5 separate regions of the Homo sapiens genome follow, and regions 1, 2, 4 and 5 are each linked to region 3. Evidence: promoter capture Hi-C in 16 types of primary human blood cells and fetal thymus (Javierre and others, 2016). All regions are on one chromosome and are shown on one strand. The core of a region is centred on a gene start or on the middle of the fragment in contact, and the rest is flanking DNA. Distances in the headings are between cores, read along the strand shown.

Region 1 (4,842 bases), core at 1,012-3,511, 1.1 Mb after region 3:
GCTAAAAATATACAGCCTATAAAGGCGCCTGCCTCACAAGGCTGTTGTGATGATTAAGTGAGTTAAAGCATGCATTGGCAAGTCCTCTGTCAGGCTACTGCTATTACAGGGAAATGGGGAGTGTTATTATCTCCATTTTAGCAATGGGGGAGGACACTGAGGCCTGGCAATGAGCCGCGGCTGAGCAGGGATGTAGCCAGGCTGTGCCTGACGTGTGTCTGGCTTCCCTCATCTGCCCTGCCAGGGATGACTTCTTAGAAGCCAGGATCTGGGAAGAGGTAGGAGGCGTGCACATGACCCAGGGAAGCTCAGAAGCAGGTCAGGCCGCCCTGGCAGCATGGGCAGACCCAGGGGAGGTCAGCTAACGAGAAGTCACCCAGCTCTGCTGCCAGGGGACCAAAAGCAAAAGCTGCCCCCTATTGTTGGCCGGGAGGGCGAGTTAGGAGTCTGGGCTAACCCTGCACCAGCCTCCTCTCCTCAACAAATCCCCAACAAAGAAACAAAGAGGAAGTCTGGGAGCTGAGAAGGGGCTGGGGGAGCAGCAGAGCCTGGCAACAAAGAGATTTCCCAAGTCTGGCTTCTCAGGGTTTCCCAAAACTCGGGGTCCCTCCACGGTGGGTCCTTTTGACACATCCCTAGCTGGGGCTGCTGAATTGGGAGTCCCAGGTCCAGAGGGAACAGGTGGTGTCCCTATTGGGAGGAAAATCCTGCATTGAGAGTGACCCCATATAGGGGAGATGTCAAGATGGGGTGGGGTACCTAGGGAAGGGTTTTGTGTCTGGGGTCAGAGTTGCCTGCTGGGGAGTATGGGGCCAGGAGACAGATGACAGTCTGGAGCAGAGGCCCAGGTCCAGAGGGCCAGGAGTCCCAGATGGCGGTGCCAGGTCCTTGCTGAGGAATCTCTGTTGGGAGGGAGGTCTTTAGTGAGGACACCCTGAGAGGTCTGGAGATTTAGGGTCCTCGCTAAGGCGCCAGGGTCAGGAGGAGGTTGAGATGGGGTTTCTCCAGGGGGGTTTCCCAGAAGGACATATCTGGAGGGTCAGGAGACATGGCAAGGGTGGCAGGCCCAGACTAGAGATAAAGTCAGGGGTCCTGGCATGGTTGAGTTCTGGGTCCAGAGGGGGCAAGGATCTCCCTTGGAGGGTGGCGTGTCCTGGGTCCTTGCTGGAGGTCTCTGAGGACAGTCCTAGGCTTAGAGGGGGCTGGACAGACCCGGGTCACCAAGAGGATTAAGACCGGGGAATGCAGTCCCAGTGCAGTGGCTCAAGCCTGTAATGCCAGCAATTTGGGAGGGCGAGGCGGGCTGATCACCTGAAGTCAGGAGTTTGGGACCAGCCTGGCCAACATGGTGAAACTCCGTCTCCACTGAAAATACAAAAATTAGCCAGGCATGGTGGTATGTGCCTGTAATCCCAGCTACTCGGCAGGCTGAAGCAGGAGAATAGCTTGAAACCGGGAGGCGGAGGCTGCCGTGATCCGAGATCGTGCCACTGCACTCCAGCCTGGGCGACAGAGTAAGCCCTGTCTCAAAAAAAGAAAAAGAAAAGAAAAAAAAAAAAGACCGAGGAACGGGGTCCCAGCTGGTCTCTGCAAAGGTACTCTGAGGGGAGCTGGGTGTTTCCTACTTAGGAGGAAGGGCTCGGACTTGGGCTCCCCGAGCAGAGCAGATATCATGAGCCTGGGTCCCGGGTCCTCACTGGGGTCTTTTCGGGGGATCCGAAGCCCAGAGGGGATTGGGATAAGGGTATTCGTGAGGGCCCCGGGGTCCCCAGGGGTTAAGGATGAAGTGGGGATCCCGGGTCCTCGCCGCCTTGCGGTGAGGCGCTTACGTACCCACGGTGGTGATCAGCGTGCTGGCGAAGAAGAGAGCAGAGGCGAAGTCCCAGGCGGGGTCCGAGGCGTTGGCGGACCCCGAAGCGTTAGCAAGCACGACCCGCCCCAGCCGTCCGGCCGCCAGCACTCGCTCCACGAAGGCGTCCAGGGCGGGGGCAGCCACACACGGGCTGCGCTGAAGCAGCTGCGCCCGCAGCGTCTCCAGCTCGGCTCGGAGCCTGGCTTCGTGCGGCCCCTCCAGCCGCGCCACCAACAGCGCGCCCAGCACCAGGTACGCGGCGTACGCGGCCAAGGCGCCCGCCAGAAGCGCGCCCCTCCGCATGGCACCCACCGGGACCCCGCGAGCCCTGGGTGGCCCCGCTGACGTGGCCCCCGCCTCCGGACCGTCTGGCACCTAGTTCCAGTTCCGGGAGTGCTACAGGCGCGGCAGCAGATGCCCCAAGAGGAAGAGGAAAAAGGGGAGGTGGGGGGCGGCGACGGAGGAATGCCCCGCCTCCGGGAAACTGAGGCACGCCCAACCGCCAGGTGTTCGTTCGGAGAGGGTGGAGCCCAGTGCTCCCAGACCCAGCAGACCAACGGGATGGAAAGGGTGGAGGTAGTCCTCTCTTCCCCTCATTCCTTCCTTCTCGTCCTCCTGGAAGGCTGGTTCTCTATGTTAGAAGAATCTGAACTTTCCTCTCTGCTCGCAGGCCGAGGAGTCGCCCCCCATCGCGCACAGCAGCTAAGGTTGTGCACTGCATCAGGGCGCGCGGCTGACGGAGCAAGGGGCAAACTGAAATCCAATTCTCGCTCCATTCGCCAAGTTGTGAGCCTCGGAGTGGGAACAGCGGACACCACAGAGTCAGGTGTCCCCTGTGCCCGTGTGGACAGAGTGGGGATCCTCAGCTACTCACCAAAGCTTTGTTCAATGCCCACTTTCTGCTGACCCCTCGCTGGATGATCCTGGAGACTCAGTAATGATGAGACCATCCTGCGCCATGCATTCATGGGGCTCCCAGTCTAACTGGGAGACTGACACAAGAGTGACCCACGCCTGTTGTCCCAGCTACTCGGGAGGCTGAGGTCGGAGGATTGCTTGAGCCCAGGAGTTCGAGGCTGCAGTGAGCTATGCCTGGGAGAGAGTGAGACCCTATCTCTAAAAAAAAGAAAAAAGACAGCCCAGAGTGGTCAGGGCTGTGATGAGGGAAGCAAGGGTACAATGATCAAGCCTGGAATCAGGGAGCCCTAGAGGGCCCTGGGAGTCCAGAGGAAGCAACCACCCCTGCCTAGGGAGGTCAAGAGAGCTTCCTGAGGAAGGGGCTAGCTGAGCTGAAGCATGAAGGATGAATGGAAACAAGCCAGGCAGAATCACAAATACACGCCTCTATTTAAGAGGAAATTTTTCTTTCTGCGCCCCCCCGTAAGTCTCTCCACTTCTGCCTCCAGCCAGAACTCAGCGCCTTCCTGACAGCCTTTTGGAGGGCAGCCCAGAGTCCTAACCCCATCCGACTGGCAGAGGAGTGGGGCTTGGGGCTCAGCTCAGACATGTCCCAGCTGGTTCTATTAAAGAGCTGGCAGATCACCGGGCAGAGCCCAACTTGGGGTTGACAATCCAGAAGCAGAGGCACCTGATAATAGAATCAGTAACACAATAGGTGCCAGTGATCGAAGGCTTACATTCTGCCAGGCCCTGTGGACACCTGAACTTGCACTGAATTCTCAACCCCGTCCCAATATAATTCCCACTAAACAGATGAGAAAATTTAGGCTTAAAAATGAAGTAGTCATTTGAGACCAGCTCGGGCAACATGGCAAAACCCCATCTCGACAAAAAATACAAAAATTAGCCAAGTGTGGTGGCATGCGTCTGTAGTCCCAGCTACTCGGGAGGCTGAGGCAGGAGGATCGTTTGAGCTCAGGAATTAGAGACTGCAATGAGTTATGGTCGCACCACTGCACTCCAGTATGGGTGATAGAGTAGACCCTGCCTCAAAAAAATAAAAAGTAGTAGTCACACAACTGGTAAGGGGTGAACATGAGGCCAGCAGGAAGCCAATGAACTAATGAACTTGCTTTTTTTTTTTTTTTTTTTTTTTTTTTGAGACAAGAGTCTCGCTCTGTCTCCCAGGCTGGAGTGCAATGGCACAATCTCGGCTCGCTGCAACCTCTGCCTCCTGGGTTCAAGCAATTCTCCTGCCTCAGCCTCCTAAGTAGCTGGAATTATAGATGCCCGCCACAACACCCAGCTAATTTTTGTATTTTAAGTAGAGACAGGGTTTCGCCATGTTGGCAAGGATGGTCTCAAACTGACCTCAGGTGATCTGCCCGCCTTGGCCTCCCAAAGTGCTGGGATTACAGGCGTGATCCGCTGCACTTGGCAGTACTTGCTTTATTAATTAAATATATATACATAAGGCTGGGTGCGGTGTTTCATGCCTGTAATCTCAGTGCTTTGGGAGGCCAAGGCAGGTGGATCACCTGAGGTCAGGAGTTCGAGACCAGCCTGGCCAACATGGCGAAACCCTGTCTCTACTAAAAATACAAAAAATTAGCCAGGTGCGATGGCACACGCCTGTAATCTCAGCTATCGGGAGGCTGAAGCAGGAGAATCACTTGAACCCAGGAGGCAAAGGTTGCAGTGAGCCGAGATCGCATCACTGCACTCCAGCCTGGGCGACAGAGCAAGACTCCATCTCAAAAAACAAACAAAAAAGCAATAAGAAAAAAAAAAACATTTATGGAAGAGATGTATCTGGAGCAACCAGAGCAAGAGAGGGCTGAGGATGAGGAGAAAATGGTGTTGGAGCCCAGGGGACAGAGGCTAAATCAGAGGTGAAGAAGAATGCGGGCATTTCGCTCACAAAAAGGAACCACAGTGGAGCCAGCACTCATCACTGAGAAACCAGGAGCAGCCCTTAAGGTCTCCAAAAAGACAACGTCTCAGAGGAGGAAGAGGAAGCCACAGCGATAGGGTCACTTGCTGACATCCTTCCGGATGCGCTATCGCTGCGCAGAAGTAACTTCCACCAC
Region 2 (4,390 bases), core at 1,671-4,170, 1.0 Mb after region 3:
TCAGATGCAATGACTCAACACCTGTAATCCCAACACTCTGGGAGCCCAAGGCAGGAGGATCACTTGTGGCCAGGAGTTCGAGACCAGCCTGGGCAACAAAGCGAGACCCCCATCTCTACAAAAAATTAAAATAAAAGAGCCAGGAGTGGTGGTGTGCACCTGTAGCCCTAGCTACTTGAGAGGCTAAGGTAGGAGTACCGCTTGAGCCCAGGAGGTCAAGGCTGTGGTGAGCCATGACTGCACCACTGCACTCCAGCCTGGGCAACACAGCAAGACCCTGTCTCCAAAAATAAATAAATAAAAGAATCACCACTCCCTACTTTAACAGGGAAACTGAGAGAGGTAAAGTCATTTGCCCAAGACCTCATAATCAGGAAGCGGCTGGATGTTTCAAAGCCAGATTTGTCTGATGTCAAATTCCCAATCATTAATCTGTGCAGGTATCATTCAGTTTTATATTCAACACATATCCAGTGAGTCCCTGTTCTGGGCCTGGCCCTGTGGTAGGCAGTGCTAGGGACATAGCAGTAACTGAGACAGTTCCAAGCTCTGCCTTTAGAAAGCTCACAGTCCAGTGAGAGAAAGGGCTGGGATGAGCAGGCACAGGCAGAGGGGTGTGAGCTGGAACTGCATTGGAAGCCACAGGAAAGAACTTGGTCTTGTGCCTGAGGACCATGAAGAGCCACGGCAGGTTCTGAGCGGGGTATGGACAGTGTCAAATTTTAGTGTCACATGATCCTACTGGCTGCCACAGGGGTTTGAGTCAGAGGGGCAAGGCTGGGGCCAGGACACGTGAAAGGTGATGGCAGCCCCACTGGGCAGAGGGGGTGCAATGTGGGAATGGGTAGGGGGAGACTGACTAGTCAAGCCAAGTCTCAGGACCTCCAAGCCAAGCCCTGACCCTGCACCACTGAGGAGAGAACTAAGCCAGGAGGAGTTCCCAGATGAAGGAAGAGGACCCAAGCAGCCAGAGCTCCAGAAATAAAGGAGCTTCCATGCAACCACCCCCCCAGTTGGGGGCAGGGCCCATTCTCACTTGTAATCAAAGTAGTAGCATTTGAGCTGGGCCATGTAGCGCTCGAAGGAGGGGATGTCCTTGCGTAGGATGCTCCATTGGGCCCCGATCTCCAGTATGTCACCTGTGGGTGACAGAGTGAGCTCTCAGGAGGTGACTGAGGTCTCTTCCCCAACCACCAGTGCTACCATTCCTGCCATGACCCCCAGATTATCACCCCCAACCAACCCCAGTGACACTCACGGGCCAGAATTAGCTGCTGTTTGGTCAGCTTGGTCCCTGTGGTTGGCAAGAAGTTGAGCTCCAGAAGAACTAGCTGATGGGGAGGGGAGGGAGGGAAGAAAGAAAAGAAGGGAATTCAAATACAGATGACTTACCTGCTCTACGCTCTGGTCTTCCCACTTGGAAAATGGAGCTAACCATCATCCAGACTCATGAGGAATGCTTTCTCATAAAGCACTCAGAACAGGGCCTGAGCACGCAACACATGCCCATTTAAGATTACATCACATTACAATTATTAATAGCCCCACTGGGGAAACAAGGAGGGACACTCAGTGCCTGACCCAGTGGAATCACGCGGCGGTGGGGACAGGAGTACATTCCATTCTTGGCCCATCTTCCCCACAATCTATTGGGGAAGGGGTAGCTGGGCTATCCCCAAAATCTATATCTGGGAGGGGGAGGTCCAAATCTCCCCCCACAGTTCAGCCCATACATCTTTCCTTAGCAGGCTCAGCAGCTTGTTCCAAGCCACTGGATTTACACTCCCTCCCAACAGATGTTTGGTCTGAAGCACTCTGGGCCCCGTATTCTTGTTCTCTACTTGTAAGAATATTTCTTCTAGGTTCAGTCCTGCCTTCACAACTAGGCTGCCCCCTCTCCCAACAGATGCGAGCCTAAGCCCCAGATCTCTCAGATCCTAACCCAGCCTGGTCTTAACCACACACCCTCTACACAGCCCACCTTTTCAGCCTCATTCTTTTATCACTCCGGGCAGTCCTCACTTCCCACTTGGTCTTGCCTGGAATCCACCATCAGGAAAAGCCCGAATCCCAATCCTGCCACTCCGACCAGTTAAGCCTCCACGCACCAAAAATCTAACCCCTCACTCAGTTCTGCCATAAGTCTTCCAATCATTCCCCCACCACCCCCGCGTGGGTCCATTCCAGTCATCTCTCACTTAAAAAAAAAATGTAGAGACAGAGTCTCGCTATGTTGCTCAGGCTGATCTTGAACTCCTGGGCTCAAGCGACGCTCCCCCGCCTCGGCCTCCCAAAGCGCTGCGATTACAGGCGTGACCATCAACGCTCCCTGTCCCTCTCTCGCTTCTTGACGCCCTCCGAGCCCCCACTTTGGCTGTTCCAAATCTTTCACCCCATCGGATCCCCCAGCCCGCCTCAGTCTCGCTGGCACCGAGGTGGCTTCCGCGGCCCGGGACTTGGTTGGGTCCAGACACCTCGTAGCGCCTCCCACGCCCGCAACACTCGGTTTCCTGGGCCTGCCGACTTTACCTTGAGTCGACCCAGCTCTTCCCCGCACTTGCTAAGATTGGGGCTTTTACGGTTCCACTCGCCCTTGAGTTGCTCGTACATGCCGGTCGCGGCCTGCAGAACAGCGCCCGAGGTTGCCGCGGGCCCGGAGCTCGAGAAGCCTGCCGCCCCGTTCACCGCCGCGGCCGCCATCTTGCGTGATGCGGCAAGCAGACCGCCTGATTTACGGCAGCGCCGCCTACAAACGCTTGCCCGGCGGAAGTGGGGCCGAGAGGTGGAGCCCAAGGCCCGGGGCGGGGCTACAACCTGCCTCAGCCCGCCCCGGGTAGCCCGCCGTCGCTCTCGAGGTGGCGCCCTCGGAGCCCTGCCCTTAATGAACATGTCAGTTGGAGCTCCGCCTCTGTCGTCACTCAAGATGGTGACCGGAAGTTGGCTTTTGCCCTAACTGAAAATGACAGCTGTCTCAACACCACCCCCCCTACCCACCTCACGGTTCCAATAATGAACATGGCTGCCCTGGCTTCAGTCTGAGTGCTCGGGACGCTACGTAGCTGTCCTGGAGGTTCCGCCTTCGGGGCAGCGTCTCCAAGCCAAAAGGTAGCGGGTGTCGTGCCATTTGGAGAGCTGTGTTATTCTCATTTTATAGACAGACTGAGAGGCTGGGTAACCTTCCAAAGGACTAACAGCTAGGATGTGTACCTGGGGCTCCCTCTCCAGTCTTTTTCAATGCATCCTTCCACATTTTTTTCCCAAGCTTATATGAACTAACTAGTTACAAAACTCATCCAGCTCTATGGCTTTCAATGTCATGTGTAAGTGGAGGATTCACAATTTTTTTTTTTTGAGACGGAGTTTAGCTCTTGTTGTCCAGGCTGGAGTGCAATGGAGCAATCTTGGCTCACTGCATCCTCCGCCTCCTGGGTACAAGTGATTCTTCTGCCCCAGCTTCCCAAGTAGCTGGGATTACAAGCATGTGCCACCACGCCTGGCTAATTTTCGTATTTTTAGTAGAGACGTAATTTTAGTATTTTTAGTAGATGTTGGTCAGGCTGGTCTCCAACTCCTGAACTCAGGCGATTCCCTGGGCCCTGGCCTCCCGAAATGCTGGGATTACAGGCATGAGCCACCTTGCCTGGCCAGTATTCACAACTTCTTATACCAACTTCTTCCTCCACTGATTGATATTACATCTGCACATTCAACATCGCTTTTTCTCTCTTTTTAAAAAAAATTAAATTTTTTATAGAGACAGAGTCTCATTATACTGCCCAGGCTGGTCTCGAACTCCTGAGCTCAAGCGATATTCCTGCCTTGACCTCGCAAAGTGTTGGGATTAGAGGTGTGAGCCACTGCGCCTGGGCAGCACGTTTTTCTCAAACCCGACTTTCACTCTCCGTCTCCACCATTTAGAATGTCATCTCCATGAAGGCAGGACGATTTCCTTCACTACTGAATTCCCAGTATCTCAGTGCTTGGCAAATATTAGTAGACAGTCAATAAATATTTGTTGGCCAGGCATGGTGGCTCATGCCTGTAATCCCAGCACTTTGGGAAGCCGAGGCAGATAGATCACTTGAGGTCAGGAGTTCGAGACCAACCTGGCCAACATGGCGAAACCCCATCTGTACTGCAAATACCAAAAAAAAAAAACAAAAAAACCAGCTGTGCGTGGTGGCACACACCTGTAATCCCAGATACTCAGGAGCCCGAGGCAGGAGAATCGCTTAAACCCAGGAGGTCAGCTTGTAGTGAGCTGAGATTGTGCCGCTGCACTCCAGCCTGGGTGACAGAGTGAGACTCTGTCTCAGAGAAAATAAATAAATAAATGTAAAAATACCAAAAATTTGCCGGGCGTGGTGGTGCACATCTGTAGTACAGCTAC
Region 3 (4,647 bases), core at 2,096-4,595:
ACCCCATCTCTACTAAAAATACAAAAATTAGCCAGGCGTGGTATGCCTATAGTCCCAGTTACTTGGGAGGCTGAGGCACCAGAATCGCTTGAAACTGGGAGGAGGAGATTGCAGTGAGCCTAGATCGTGCCACTGCACTCCAGCCTGGGTGATGGTGAGACTGTCCTCCCCCACACCCCCCCACCAAAAAAACCAGTCCAAAATAATGATGATACTACAGTACACATTTGCCATATGCCTGGTATCATGTTAAGCAGTTTACACGCATAATCTAAGTTTTCCTGGAAACTCCGTTTTCCTAAGGAGGAACCCAGAGGTCAGAGGTAGAGATTGATGGTGCATCTGACTCCAGAGGCTGTATTCTTAGTCACTTACCCTCCTCTCAACTCCTGCCCCTCTTCTCTTCTTTGTTTCAGACTTGGTCAGATGTGCTGTCTAGCAGTAGCCTTCCCTAAGCCACTCTCTCCCTATCCCCACCCTGGGCTTCCACACTGAGATTTCCCCATCCCAGCCCTGATCCCTCTGCCTGTGCCTCCTCAATCATAACCCTAACCACTCTGGCCTAGGCTTCTCCCATCACAGCACTGACCACTCTGAGCTGTCACTGTTTAGGGGTGTGCTTATTATTCCACTCAACTGAAAGCTCTGCAAGGGCAAGGATCAGAGCAACCCTGTGTCCTCAGTGTTGGTGGAAGCACAGGTCTGGCCCACAGGAGGTCCCCAGTTGAGTGTGAGTTGACTGACTGACTGTTTCTGAAGACCCCAGAGACTGGGACACGGCTGTTGTTACCCCGTGTCCAGAAGGCTTCTTACCAGGCACAGCTCCAGCTGGTCACAGAGTGCATAGAACTCTTCCAGGCACTTGTCAAAGCGCTGTATGGGTCCATCACTGCTCTTTCTACAGACAAGGAAAAAAGGATGTCTGAAGAATTGATTTCTAATCTTTGGGACACCAGTATCTACCCAACCAAGTGTCCATCAGGAAACCAGGTACAGGTCCAGGAGATCTGAAGTAGTGGTTGAAAACCGGAGGGGTTCAAAAAAAAAGAAAAGGAGGCTGGGCACGGTGGCTCACGCCTGTAATCCCAGCACTTTGGGAGTCCGAGGCGAGCAGATCACCTGAGGTCAGGAGTTCAAGACCAGCCTGGACAACATGGTGAAACCCCATCTCTACTAAAAATACAAAAATTAGCCAGATGTGCTGGCACGCGCCTGTAGTCCCAGCTACTTGGGAGGCCGAGGCAGGAGAATCATTTGAACCCGGGAGGCAGAGGTTGCAGTGAGCTGAGACTACACCACTGCACTCCAGCCTGGGCGACAGAGCAAGACTCTGTCTCAAAAAAAAAAAAAAAAAAAAAAAAAAAAAAAAGAAAAGAAAGAAAGAAAGAAAGAAAAGGAAAAGGCTGGGCATGATGGTTCATGCCTGTCATCCCAGCACTTTGGGAGGCCAAGGTGGAAGGACTGTTTGAACCCAGGAGTTTGAGACCAGCCTGGACAACGTGGCAAGACCCTGTCTCTACAAAACAACAACAAAAATAAAATAAAATAGGAGAAGTGATTCGTGAGGCTGAGGGGATGGCTAGAGGCCAGGAGTTTGAGACCAGCCTGGGAAACATAGCAAGACTCCGTCTCTATAAAAAAATCTTACAAATTAGCCAGGCATCTGTAGTCTGTAGCCATGTCTGTAGTCCTGGCTACTTGGGAGGCTGAGGCAAGAGGATCTCCTAACTCAGGTGTTCAAGGCTGCAATGAGCCAAGATCGTGCCACTGTAGTCCAGCCTGGGTGACAGAGGGAGACCCTGTCTCAAAAAAAAAAAAAAAAAAAAGTAAATATAGAAGGTGAGGTGGGCGGGGAGCAGGAGAAGGAAAGATGAATTTCAAAGACTGGGAAGGCAATAGAATATCCTGGTAAAGGGGGCTGCACTCACTGTCCATTGTCGATGTTAGTGTTCTGAATCAAGTTTTGGGCCGCAACCTTCATCAAGGTCTAGTCAAAACAAAAACAAAACACGTGGGAAATGGAAAAACAAAAGGGAATACCTCTGGCAGATCTACACTCTTTCTTGAGATCACTCAGTCTCAGGTTTTCTTTTCAACTGGCACCTTCCCTCCTGACTTTCCAAAGTAATATTCGTTTCCATTCCTATAGCTGTCACCACTCCATCCTCCCAGAGGCCCGCTCTCACCTGAGCTTCTCGCCAATAACCTAAGGGTCCTCCCTCACCTATCAATCAAGGGCAGAATCTCCGTATAAGCCAGTACTCTCCTCAGGCTTTAACGACCAGAGCCCAGTTTCTCCTTTAAACAACCCCTCACTCAAGCTCCGGCCAGTCCCAGCCTCAGCATCAGCGCTGATCCCATCTCTGCCGAGCTTCGCTTAGGTCTCGCAGAAAACAACAGTTTTATTTATTTATTTATTTATTTTTTTGACGGAGTCTCGCTCTGTTGCCCAGGCTGGAGTGCAATGGCACGATGTCGGCTCACTGCAACCTCCGCCTCCTGGGTTCAAGCGATTCTCCTGCCTCAGCTTCCCGAGTAGCTGTAATTACAGGCGCGCGCCACCATGCCCGGCTAATTTTTGTATTTTTAGTAGAGACGAGGTTTCACCAGGCTGGTCTTGAACTCCTGACCTCAAGTGATCCGCCCGCCTCGGCCTCCCAAAGTGCTGGGAACACAGGCGTGCACCAGCCAGGCCAAAACAGCAGGTTCTATTCCTCTTTCTGCTTAGCGCTCTCTCCGACTAACCTGGCCCTCGGCCTGCCCCTCTAGACTACCAAATCCAGTTTGCTTCTCGCTGCTTAAGGCCAATCACCTGTAGACTCTCCTTCAGCTGCGGGATGAGCATCTTATAACGCTGCACAGGATCGAAGTCCTGTTGCTGTTGCTGCAGGAGGCCGCTCTGGGCAGGGCCCACCAGTTGTGCTGGCGGTTGCGGCTGCTGCTGGGGACCCGGGCCGCCAGCCGAACTAGGACCCGATACACCAGCAGCTGAGGAAGCCGCTGAAGCTTGCTGCTGGGATGCAGCCATCTTCCTCGCGTAGACCGCCGGAAGTGCGTTACGACTGCGTCTCTCCCCGTTGCTTTTCAGCATCCCTATTTCTAGTCCCCGTTTGCTAGTTAGTCCCGCCCCCTAGGCAATTAAGCCAATGGAGGGGAAGGAGGTGCCCCAACGTTACGTCACTCTCAAATCTGCGTCCAGACTGAGATATCTCTCCACCAATCACAGAAGCACCTCTCTCCCTCGCTCCGCCCTTCACCCAGACGCTCGCCAATCCGTGTGTGGTTCCGAGCCGGACTTCATTTCCCCGAAGGCGTCGCGGCCTGAGGAGACCCGTTGGGTCCTCAGCGTCTTGGCGGCAGTTGGTGGAACCGGAGCTTCGAGTCCGTCCCCGGTGCTGCCTGCGCGTTCACCTGAGTCTCGCTGGAGCTCTTCTCGCCCGCCCACCTCATCTCAACCCACTTTCCGCGGGGAGCGGCGCCAAGCTGGGCCTTCCTCGGATCAGGCGTCCCCTGAAGTCGGCACGCCCCTCTGCGTCCCCCTTCGGTCCCGCTAGGACCCCGTCCGGGCTGCCGTCGCCTCGTCGCTATGGCGCCCACCATCCAGACCCAGGCCCAGCGGGAGGATGGCCACAGGTAGGCGCCACGCTTTTCTGTTGCAGCAAGGCGGGGGATCGGGAGAGGGTTTCTGCTGAACAACGTCACCAGCCCCCAGGTCTGCCCGTGACGTCATGAAGCGCTCACCTTTGACGAAGGGGGCGGGTTCCTTCTGAGATTCAGGTGTTCCCCTCCTCCCCGCCGTGCAGTTCAGGGATTAGGCTTTTGGAGACTCCCTCCAGAAGGGATCCCTCCAGTCAACCGTTTGGAGACCCCTCTTCCGAAGACGATTGAGTACATGGTTCTTTATTAAAGCACTTGAAGCCATCTCCTGCAAAAGGGATTGAGCACTTGGCCTTGTTCATTAAAGCTTTTGGGGGCATTTCTTCCTAAATAAATTGAACATTTGTCTCCTTCCATTAAAGCATTTGGACACTCCCCACACCACCACCCAAAGAAACCAGCATTTGTCACCCCTCCTACCTTTTGAAAGGTTGGGGAAGCCTTTTTCATTCTCCTGTCAATCCCGTCCTCTCCACCTATCACTGTTTCTTTCTTCTCCACTAGGCCCAATTCCCACCGGACTCTGCCTGAGAGGTGAGCCCCACTGTGCTTTCCCAGGAGCGGTGGGGCAGTGGGGCTGGGAGCAGAGGTGGGGCAGCGGGGGCCCACTTTTGAGCCACTAATGTTCCTAGGTCTGGAGTGGTCTGCCGAGTCAAGTACTGCAATAGCCTCCCTGATATCCCCTTCGACCCCAAGTTCATCACCTACCCCTTCGACCAGAACAGGTGAGACTAAGGAATGGGAAAACTACTCAGGTATGAGTTCCTTGAAGGCAGGGACTGCTTGTCTCGTTGGCTGCTGTCTGCTCAGGGCCTAGCACAGTACCTACCCTAGCACATAGTAGTAGCTGCTCAATTGTTAATGGAGCAAGCAGTGTCCAAGTCCCTTCCCACTGGGGAGCCAGCTTTCAGACTCTGCCATGGGGGACACTTCATTCTGAGTTCCTCCCCAGAGAAGCTCCGCCTCTGGGAAGCAGGGCTGTGAGGGGTG
Region 4 (4,425 bases), core at 1,917-4,416, 2.0 Mb before region 3:
GAAAGAAAGAAAGAAAGAGTACTCCTCCTCCTATCAGAATGTTAACGCAATCTTCCCTGCAGCATAGCAAGATGTACTAATGAAACTGTTGTAACATATGTACTGGTCCTGTAGCCTGGAATAAACTCTATAGTTAATCATATTTTCCTTTCTTTTCTTTTTTTTCTTTTTTGAGAGTAGAAGTCTGGCTCTGTCGCCCAGGCTGAAGTGCGGTGGCGTGATCTCGGCTCACTGCAACTGCTGCCTCCCAGGTTCAAGTGATGCTCCTGCCTCAGCTTCCCAAATAGCTGACACCACAGGCATGTGCCACCACACCCATCTAGTTTTGGTATTTTTTAGTAGAGACAGGGTTTCGCTATATGTTGGCCAGGCTGGTCTCGAACTCCTGACCTCAGGGTATCCACTCTCCTTGGCCTCCCAAAGTGCTGGGATTACGGGCATGAACCACCGAATCCGGCCTCAATCATATTTTCTGAATCTCATTATTTATAGTTGACGATAATTTATTTTCTTTTATTTAACATGTATACATGGGAGCCTTCAGAATGAAGACCTCAGCCGGGAGCAGTGGCTCATGCCTGTAATCTCAGCACTTTGGGAGGCCAAGGTGGGCAGATCACCTGAGGTCAGGAGTTTGAGACCTGCCTGGCCAACATGGCGAAACCCCGTCTCTACTAAAAATACAAAAATGAGGCAGGAGGTGCCAGCCAGGTTGTGGAGAGCCTTGTCATGCATGATAAGACTTTGGCTTTTACCCTGAGTGAAATGGGGACCACTGGACGGGTCTGAGCAGATGGGACCTGACTTAGGTGTTCACAGGGTTCCAGCTGCATGTGGGGTGCAAACTAGAGGGGTTGGCAAAGGGGACCCCAGAGACAAGGTCCCTGTCATAGTCCAGGTGATAGATGAACTTGGACAGATCAAGGTGCAGGGCGACAAAGAGGTGAGAAGTGGGATTTAGGGTGTATTTCAAAAGTAGAGGCAGTAAGATTTCCTGATGGACAAAATGGGGGCTTGAGAAAAGAGAATGCAAGGCTGGTGCCACCACTAGGGGACCAGGGGCCCCAAGAGCTGAAAGGTTAGAGCTGTCTACCTCACCCACACAGCATCCAGAAATAAATAAATAAATAAATACATTTTCCCCAGCTCCAGCTTAAAGGACAGAAAGATCATTTAAAAGTGAAACCTCTGCCAGGTGCAGAGGCTCACTCCAGCCTGGGCAACAGAGCAAGATTCTGTCTCAAAAAAAAAAAAAAAAAAAAGTAAATAAATAAAATAAAAAAGAAAATACAAAAAGTAGCTGGGCCCAGGCGAGGTGGCTCATGCCTGTAATCCCAGCACTTTGGGAGGCTGAGGCAGAAGGATCACATGAGGCCAGGAGTTCGAGACCAGCCTGACCAACATGGTGGAACTCCATCTCTACTAAAAGCACAAACATTAGCTAGATATAGTGGTGGGTGCCTGCAATCCCAGCTACTAAGGAGGCTGAGACAGAAGAATTGCTTGAACCTGGGAGGCGGAGGTTGTGGTGAGCAGAGATCATGCCACTGCACTCCAGCCTGGGCGACAGAGGGAGACTCTGTCAAAAAAAAAAAAAAAAAAAAAAACCCGGCCGGTCACGGTGGCTAACGCCTGTAATCCCAGCACTTTGGGAGGCTGAGGCGGGTGGACCACCTGAGGTCAGGAGTTTGAGACCGGTCTGGCCAATATGGTGAAAACCCGTCTCTACTAAAAATACAAAAATTAGCTGGGTGTGGTGGTGCACGCCTGTAGTCCCAGCTACTCGGGAGGCTGAGGCAGGAGAATCTCTTGAACCCGGGAGGCAGAGATTGCAGTGAGCTGGGATCGCACCACTGCACTCCAGCCTGGATGACAGGGGGAGACGCCATCTCAAAAAGTAAAAAACCAAAATTATAACGAGGGTACAACATTTCAATAGGATAACATTTATATTAAACAATTCAATGGAATACTTCACTAGTTGATATATGCATTATTAATGGGGTCTCCCTATATTCGAACTTCTGGCCTCAAGAGCTCTTCCCGCCTCAGCCTTCCAAAGGGCTGGGATTACAGTTATGAGCCACCGCGCCTAGCCAATGGTAGCTTGTAAATACTTTGTATCTATTGGCCTGGCTGGGTGGCTCACGCCTGTAATCCCGGCAGTTTGGGAGGGAGAACTGGGAGGATAGCTAGAGCCCAGGAGGTCAAGACAAGACTGGGCAACATAGCAACATAGCAGGACTCCATCTCTTAAAAAAAAAAAAAAGAATTAGCCAGCCGTGGTGGTGCATGTCTGTGATACCAGCTACATGGGAGGCTGAGGTAGGAGGATCCCTTGAACCCAGGAGTTAAGAGGCTGCAATGAGCTGTGATCGAGCCACCGTACTCCAGCCTGGGTGACAGAGTGAGACCCTTTTAAGGAGCCTTGATGGGACCTGATGACTGGCTTGATGTGGGAAATGATGGCATCTAGGATGGCATCCAGGGACAACATCTCCATTTCTTGATTGATAAATCAATCAATAGGAAAGAGGATTTTCTGCAAATAAGGGAATCTTAGTTCCTCATTTCTCTTCGCTACCCCAACCGCTCCTTGCTCAGAATCAAGCAGTAACAGTGAACTTGGTAGTAGCTCCGAGAAGGAAGTTGGACTTATCCAACTTCCTTCCTTCCTTGTCCTTGAGAAACCTAGGGGAACTCTAAAACGGAAGCAGAACCCACTCCCCAACTTCTCCACTCTCTGAATGAGGAGTGATTTTTTTGCTTTGTTTTCCAGTTACAAGGCCGGGGATGTACACGAGGTCCTGGAAGGAATTCCCCCTTGGTCCTGGTTCAATCTCTGATTTGTGATCCCGGACCACAGAGAGCTCTTCGGTGGGGTAGGCGCAGCACGGAGCAGTTAGGGATTTGCTTTTTTGGTAAAGAAGGTATCTGGGAGAAACTGCACTCAAACTTCCTCAGCCACACTCAACATGGCAGCTTCCTAGCCACGCCCAAAATGGCGGAACCCTTTGCCGTAGCTGGAGAGACGCTATTTTCCCAAAATGGAGCGGAGGAGGAAAATGTCCATCACAGCTTCACCCCGCCCCCCGCAGACGGCTAGCACCAATTAGTAGCGCGCAGAGCGAGTACAAAGCTAGGGGAGGAGCCTGCTGTTGCCCCAGCAACAACCACGGAAACCAAGACGAGCGCGGTCGCGGAAGTATCGCGGCTTACATATCTCGCAGCCAGGCGGGTCCTGGGAGAGGCGCGAGCCAGGCCTGGTCGGCGCCCGCGGAGAAAAGAAGCAGTCAAGCCCATGAACTACAACCCCGGTTGCCGCTTTCTCCTCTCCTAACCGTTAAGTGCGCTAAGGTAGGAATGACGCATGCGCTGCGCTTAGAGGCGGGGTTAAGTCGGACCTGAACTCATAACGCATGCGCCTTATGGAGCTTGCTGGGGGAGGGAAGCGGGGTGGCTGGCGTGACGCGGAAGGCGGGTCTTTTGCGCTCGTGGGCGGAGCCATAGCCCCTTCGGGCGGGGCTTTCCGCCGACCTGAACCCGAAAAGGTTATTTTGGACTTCCCAGAGTTAAATGCTGGTTCCCCAGACAAGGGTCCCCCCATTTTTTCCAGGCTTTCATGGGTTGGCAATTAGGATCTGTGGTCAAGACCTCAGCCTCAGGGGTGTGACGAAGCTAGCTTGGAATCCTAGTACTACCCTTTACTTGCTGGGCCTCAGTTTCCCCCCCGTCAAATGGAGATAATACACTTACCTCACAGGGTTGTGATTATATTTTTCCCCTCCCAGGGCCATGGCTGAGGTGCACGTGATCGGGCAGATCATAGGGGCCAGCGGTTTCTCGGAAAGTAGCCTCTTCTGCAAGTGGGGCATTCACACAGGTATTCCCCCAAGCCTGGTTCATTTCCACACCAAGACCCCTAGCCTAGAGGCTACATGCTCCTTCCTCCACCCCTTAACGCAGACTCTTAACCTCATTTCCATCAGTTCTCAGTACTCCAGGCCCAGCCCACACCCTGTCCACATGAGTCTCAAGCTCCCATCTTTGTGTGTGTGAGGGGTGGGATACAGACAGGGTCTCTCTCTGCGCCCGGGCTGGAGTAAGGTGGTGTGATCATAGCTCAGTGCAGCCTCGAACTCTCGGGCTCTAGTGATCCTCCCGCCTCAGCCTCCTGAGAAGCTGGGACTACAGACACGCACCACCAAATCTGGCTAATTTTTTTTATTTTTTGTAGAGACAGGGTCTCGCTATGTTGCCCAGGCTGGTCTCGAACTCCTGCGCTCAAACAGGCCACCCACTTCAGCCTCTCAAAGTGCTAGGATTAAAAACGTGAGCCGCCACGTCCCAGGAAAGTAATTTTGTTCATGCTTCCCCAACTGAGGCCCTATAGAGTCATGGTATAGTGTAATGGTTAGGGTCATG
Region 5 (4,600 bases), core at 982-3,481, 1.1 Mb after region 3:
ACAGCTGAGCCTCTCCCCACCAATTCACTTTTTTCTCCTGCCTAGGGCACAGAGAAATTAACCAGTCCCCAGAAGTTACCACAGGTGATGACTTGGTACACACCTAGCCTGCTCTTTTTTTTTTTTTTGAGACTGAGTCTTGCTGTGTCGCCCAGGCTGCTGTGCAGTGGCTTGATCTCAGCTCACTACAGCCTCCGCCTCTGGGCTTCAAGCGATTCTCCTGCCTCAGCCTCCCGAGTAGCCGGGACTACAGGTGTGCACCACCATGCCCAGCTAATTTTTGTATTTTTGGTAGAGACGGGGTTTCATCATGTTGCCTAGGGTGGTGTTGAACTCCTGGCCTCCAGTGATCTGCCCGCCTTGGCCTCCCAAAGTTCTAGGATTACAGGCATGAGCCACATCACCCGGCCTTCTTTTTTTTTTTTTGAGATGGGAGTTTCACTCTTGTTGCCCAAGCTGGAATGCAGTGGCGCGATCTTGGCTCACTGCAACATCCGCCTCCCGGGTTCAAGCACCAGCACCTGTCTATAAAGCCCTAGGCCATCTGGCTGCAGCCAACCTCTCCCACCTCCCATCCTCCTCCAGTCCTCCCCTCCTTCACGCCTGCTCCAGCCAGGCTGGCTCTGTCTTTTCCCTGAACCCAACCAAGCTTGTTCCAGCTTCAAGGCCTTTGTACTCTATTGCCTGCAACTGGACACTGGTCCCCCAGGTCTCCGTGTGGCTACTGCCTCATTCTTCATGTTAGAGCTCAGATGTCACCCTCCTCACGGAGACGTCCCCCGACCACCTGAGCTAAAGCCGCCCCCAACATCTTACGTCACCCTGTTGGTGTACTTCACCTGGTTCATTTAATTCTCAGTAACTTAATCTCATGGCAAGTGCTTTTTAAACCTTCACTAGCTCTGCCTCTCCCACTGGAATATTAGCTCTGTGAATGCAGGAACCCAGCTAGTCTGAGTTAACTGTTATAACCAGCGCCAGTGCCTGACACGTAGCAGGGCCTCAGTAAGTTTTGCTGAATCAATGAATTCTTGCTTTCAAGAGAGCTCTTTTCAAAACACGCTGGTGCTTGTCTGAAGCAGTTAAGGTTATAACAACACTTGTTCAAAGAGACCTTTCAGACCACACTTCCTTAAGAGTGTAGAAGTTTAAATCACCTTATTCACCACCGACTTCTAAGGGCCAATCCAAAGACCCCAACACCAGCTGCTCAACGCCAATACTCTCTCGAGCCTTAGCAGAGCTTCCTCTTCCCCAAAGCTTGTTTCCTTTCTTGCTCCCTCCTTCTCGGGCACCTACTTTACTGCAACTCAACTACAAAAACTTCAGGGGAGGCTCTTGTCCAATCTCCAAAGAGGCAGGGGTGAGATGGGCTTCTTCCGAGTCTAAAACGGCCACCAGGTCACCCAACCCAACCCCCACCATCTCACAGGCCTGGCCTCTCCCTGAGCTTTGGCCATGGAACTTTCCACCGCCAGGAGAAGGCTGGTCTTCAATTCGGCTCCTCACCCCGTTCTTGCCACAGGAAGGGGCAGTGCCACGCCTTCTTGGTCAATACCCCTTGACTCTTCCTCCACCCGAAGGAAACTCTCCTAACCCTCGCTCCTCCGCCCGTCTTCGCTGTCGAAGGCTCCCAAACCTCATTTCAAGGCTCAATCCTCCAGGGCTGGTTCCACCACACCCGCTGAACGCCATCAAGTAGCCCCCAGTTTCCTCCCCCGCCAGTTCTCCCTGCTCAGACCCCCGTTGACCCCCGAGCCTCTGCCCCCTGCGCCCCGCCTCCAGCCTACCCGCCCGGCCCTCACCGTGGATGCTGCGTTCTCGGTCGGCCGCCAGGACCCCAGAGAGGAGCAGCGATCCCAGCAGGGCGAGAAACGCCCGGCTCCGCCTCAGCCCGCACAGCTGCGCCATGGCCAGCTCAGCCGAGACGCGCAGGCGACGCCACCAGCCGTTGGGGTCTCGCGATCAGGTGCGGGAAGCCCCTCAACGCGCACGCGCAATGGAGCGCCTCGCGTTCAGGTGCCGACGCTCCGGGAGGGTCCGCCAGGTGCCAAAGCCCCCGGAAGTCGCCTTTCCGGACCTTCAGTGTGGGGACGCCCGGCCTTCTCGGCGCGCGATGCCTGGGTCTGCTCCTCACTCGCGCCCTCGCCGCCTGCGACACTCAACGGCCCTCAGCGCGTTCAGAGCCGCGCTACACCTCCCAACGCGCGGAGGTCGCCAGAGCCAATGGCGAACGCCTATTGGAAGCGGCTCCCGAAGGTGGCCGGGCAGGCAGGGGGCGGGGCGCACCTGGCTAGGCAGGGCGAGCTGGGCGCAGGCGCAAAGGGCAGGCACCTGCGCGGCCGCTCCCCGGCCCTGGGCGCACCTGGGCCCGCCCCTGGTGCCGGGGAAGAGGCGGGGCTTGCGCGGGCCTCGCCCCCAACAGAACCTGGCGGGGCGGGGCGGGGCGTCTGCCCGCTGAGCACCTGCCACCCTTCCCTTGGGCTTGGTGACGACGTCGGAGGAGGGCCTTCGCTCTAGGACTGGCCTCAGGGTGGGAGGAGGGGGCGGCAGACACGCGTTTCTTGGAAGCCTGTGGTTTTCTGCCCGCCTCGCCGCAGCTTTCCTGTGAATTCCTTCCTGAATTTCAAAGTTCACTGGGCTCATGCTCCAGGGCTTAATGCTGGGGACCCAGCGGTGGCCATGCCAGACTGGTCCCTGAGTCACCAAACAGGAACGGCCCAGAGTAGTGATAGCGGAAGCTTAGCACAAAGTGATGAAAGCTGTGATGGGGAAGGCCAAGCTTAGGGATCAGAGGCTGGGTCGCTAGAAAACCAGGGCATGATGGGAGCCCAGACAGCTTTCCCATCCAGCCTGAGAGAGGGCCAAGGAGGGCTTCCTGGAGGAGGTGATAGGCCCATGCAAAAACAGCCCCGAGCCCTGGCTCCAAGGTTCTCAGGACAGATATGGAGACAAATACTTAGCACAGGCAGCATCAGAATTGAGAGGAAGGAAGCCCCTGGGGAAACCCAGAGAAGACACCTGACCAAGCCTGGGAGTCAAAGAGGGCTTCCTGGAAGAGGAGTTACGTGAACAGACTCTAGAAAGGGGAATGGAGTGGGGCAGGCACACGAGTAGAGGATAGCCAACAAGGTAATCAACATAAATGCATTATTATTGAAAACACTTTTAGATTATTTCTTTTTTTTTTTTTTTTTGAGATGGAAGTTTTGCTCTTGTTGCCCAGGCTGGAGTGCAATGGAGTGATCTTGGCTCACTGCAGCCTTGACCTCCTGGGCTCAAGGGATCCTCCCACCTCAGCCTCCCAAGTAGCTGGGACTACAGATGTGAGCCACCACATCCAGCTAATTTTTAAATTTTTTGTGGAGACAGGGGACTTGCTATGTTGCCCAGGCTGGTCTCAAACTCCTGGCTTCAAGGGATCCTCCTGTCTCATCCTTCCAAAAGTGTTGTATTACAGGCGTGAACCACCACACCTGGCCTGAAAACACTTTGACAGTGCTATACAGAAAAGGAATCAGGGGCTGGGATGGAAAATAACAAGAGATCTTTTGAATGGGGTGGCGGAGGAAGGGCTTTGTGAGGGGTGGCTTTGATAATGAACTCTGAAGGATGATAAAGGCCAAGGGACAAACATTCCAAGAATCAGGAATGGCACATGCGGAGGCCTTCAGGCAGGAAAGAGAATAGTGTGTTCAGGAGCCAGGGCCACTCCCACTCTTCAGCCTCCCTCCTAGCATAATAATACATGAAAAGCCGTAACTGAGTTATCAAAATGGTATTTACCTTAAACAATGGAAGTCTAACCTTGCAATGAGATCATGGGACTCAAGGTGGAATCTGAATGTGAGGCCAAAGGTCTCCCCCAGCACTTGAATCTCCCACTGCCACTCAGGCCTACTAAACCTAGGCTTGAGCATGAAAACAGAGAAGTATGTGCTGAGCCGTCAAGGCTTGGAAGAAGGTATAGGCCTCTTCTTTCTTTATTTTATTTTATTTTGAGACAGAGTTTCACCTGTTGCCCAGGCTGGAGTGCAATGCTGTGATCTCAGCTCACTGCAACCTCCACCTCCTGGATTCAAGCAATTCTCCTGCCTCAGCCTCCTGAGTAGCTGGGATTACAGGCACCACCCGCCACCACGCCCAGCTAATTTTTGTATTTTTTGTAGAGATGGAGTTTCACCATGTTGGCCAGGCTGGTCTCGAACTTCTGACCTCACGATCCGCCCACCTTGACCTCCCAAAGTGCTGGGATTACAGGCGTGAGCCACTGCATCTGTCCAGTTTTGAACTTTAAACACAAAAACTCAAAAGGAGGGCTGAGCGCAGTGGCTCATGCCTGTAATCCCAGCACTTTGGGAGGCCAAGGCGGGTGGATCACGAGGTCAGCAGATCAAGACCATCTTGGCTAACACGGTGAAAAAATCAAAAAGATTAGCCGGGCGTGGTGGCGGGAGCATGTAGTCCCAGCTACTCGGGAGGCTGAGGCAGGAGAATCTCTTGAACCCGGCAGGCGGGGTTTGCAGTGAGCCAATATTGTGCCACTGTACTCCAGCCTGAGCAACAGCGCGAGAGTCGTTCTCAAAAAAAAAAAAAAAAA

Evidence for each region. The method cuts DNA at HindIII sites, captures the fragments that hold promoters and counts their contacts. A CHiCAGO score of 5 or more calls a contact.
Region 1: a contact is called between the fragment with the promoter of KCNK6 here and the fragment with the promoter of PAF1 in region 3, in 1 of 17 cell types (neutrophils). The highest score is 5.2, in neutrophils.
Region 2: the fragment with the promoter of PSMD8 here is called in contact with the fragment with the promoter of PAF1 in region 3 in 4 of 17 cell types (fetal thymus, total CD8 T cells, naive CD4 T cells and 1 more); the score reaches 7.7 in fetal thymus.
Region 4: a contact is called between the fragment with the promoter of B9D2 here and the fragment with the promoter of PAF1 in region 3, in 1 of 17 cell types (activated CD4 T cells). The highest score is 5.8, in activated CD4 T cells.
Region 5: the fragment with the promoter of SPINT2 here is called in contact with the fragment with the promoter of PAF1 in region 3 in 1 of 17 cell types (total B cells); the score reaches 6.3 in total B cells.

What each region holds. Positions count from the first base shown.
Region 1 is chr19:38,317,264-38,322,105 of GRCh38, reverse strand. It overlaps KCNK6 (potassium two pore domain channel subfamily K member 6), which reads right to left and starts at 2,261. Exons shown (of 3, transcript NM_004823.3): 1 at 1,834-2,261. The coding sequence starts at 2,155. It also overlaps a transcript of YIF1B not described here. RefSeq lists a silencer at 2,079-2,168 and an enhancer at 1,810-2,433. The HindIII fragment of the contact is 18,756 bases long and covers 1-2,733 here.
Region 2 is chr19:38,373,101-38,377,490 of GRCh38, reverse strand. It overlaps PSMD8 (proteasome 26S subunit, non-ATPase 8), which reads right to left and starts at 2,920. Exons shown (of 7, transcript NM_002812.5): 1 at 2,530-2,920; 2 at 1,259-1,331; 3 at 1,037-1,139. The coding sequence starts at 2,889. RefSeq lists enhancers at 2,611-2,750, 2,381-3,011. The HindIII fragment of the contact is 10,393 bases long and covers 1-3,264 here.
Region 3 is chr19:39,389,804-39,394,450 of GRCh38, reverse strand. PAF1 (PAF1 component of Paf1/RNA polymerase II complex) reads left to right here and starts at 3,345. Exons shown (of 14, transcript NM_019088.4): 1 at 3,345-3,633; 2 at 4,162-4,191; 3 at 4,290-4,382. The coding sequence starts at 3,587. It overlaps MED29 (mediator complex subunit 29), which reads right to left and starts at 3,073. Exons shown (of 4, transcript NM_017592.4): 1 at 2,813-3,073; 2 at 1,929-1,987; 3 at 814-898. The coding sequence starts at 3,028. It also overlaps a transcript of SAMD4B not described here. RefSeq lists an enhancer at 2,729-3,018 and a silencer at 4,556-4,647. The HindIII fragment of the contact is 958 bases long and covers 3,009-3,966 here.
Region 4 is chr19:41,362,890-41,367,314 of GRCh38, reverse strand. B9D2 (B9 domain containing 2) reads left to right here and starts at 3,166. Exons shown (of 4, transcript NM_030578.4): 1 at 3,166-3,357; 2 at 3,792-3,883. The coding sequence starts at 3,796. It also overlaps a transcript of TMEM91 not described here. RefSeq lists an enhancer at 3,191-3,310. The HindIII fragment of the contact is 18,483 bases long and covers 1-4,425 here.
Region 5 is chr19:38,262,204-38,266,803 of GRCh38, reverse strand. SPINT2 (serine peptidase inhibitor, Kunitz type 2) reads right to left here and starts at 2,231. Exons shown (of 7, transcript NM_021102.4): 1 at 1,806-2,231. The coding sequence starts at 1,911. RefSeq lists a silencer at 2,207-2,526 and enhancers at 2,683-3,600, 3,741-4,600. The HindIII fragment of the contact is 1,481 bases long and covers 1,263-2,743 here.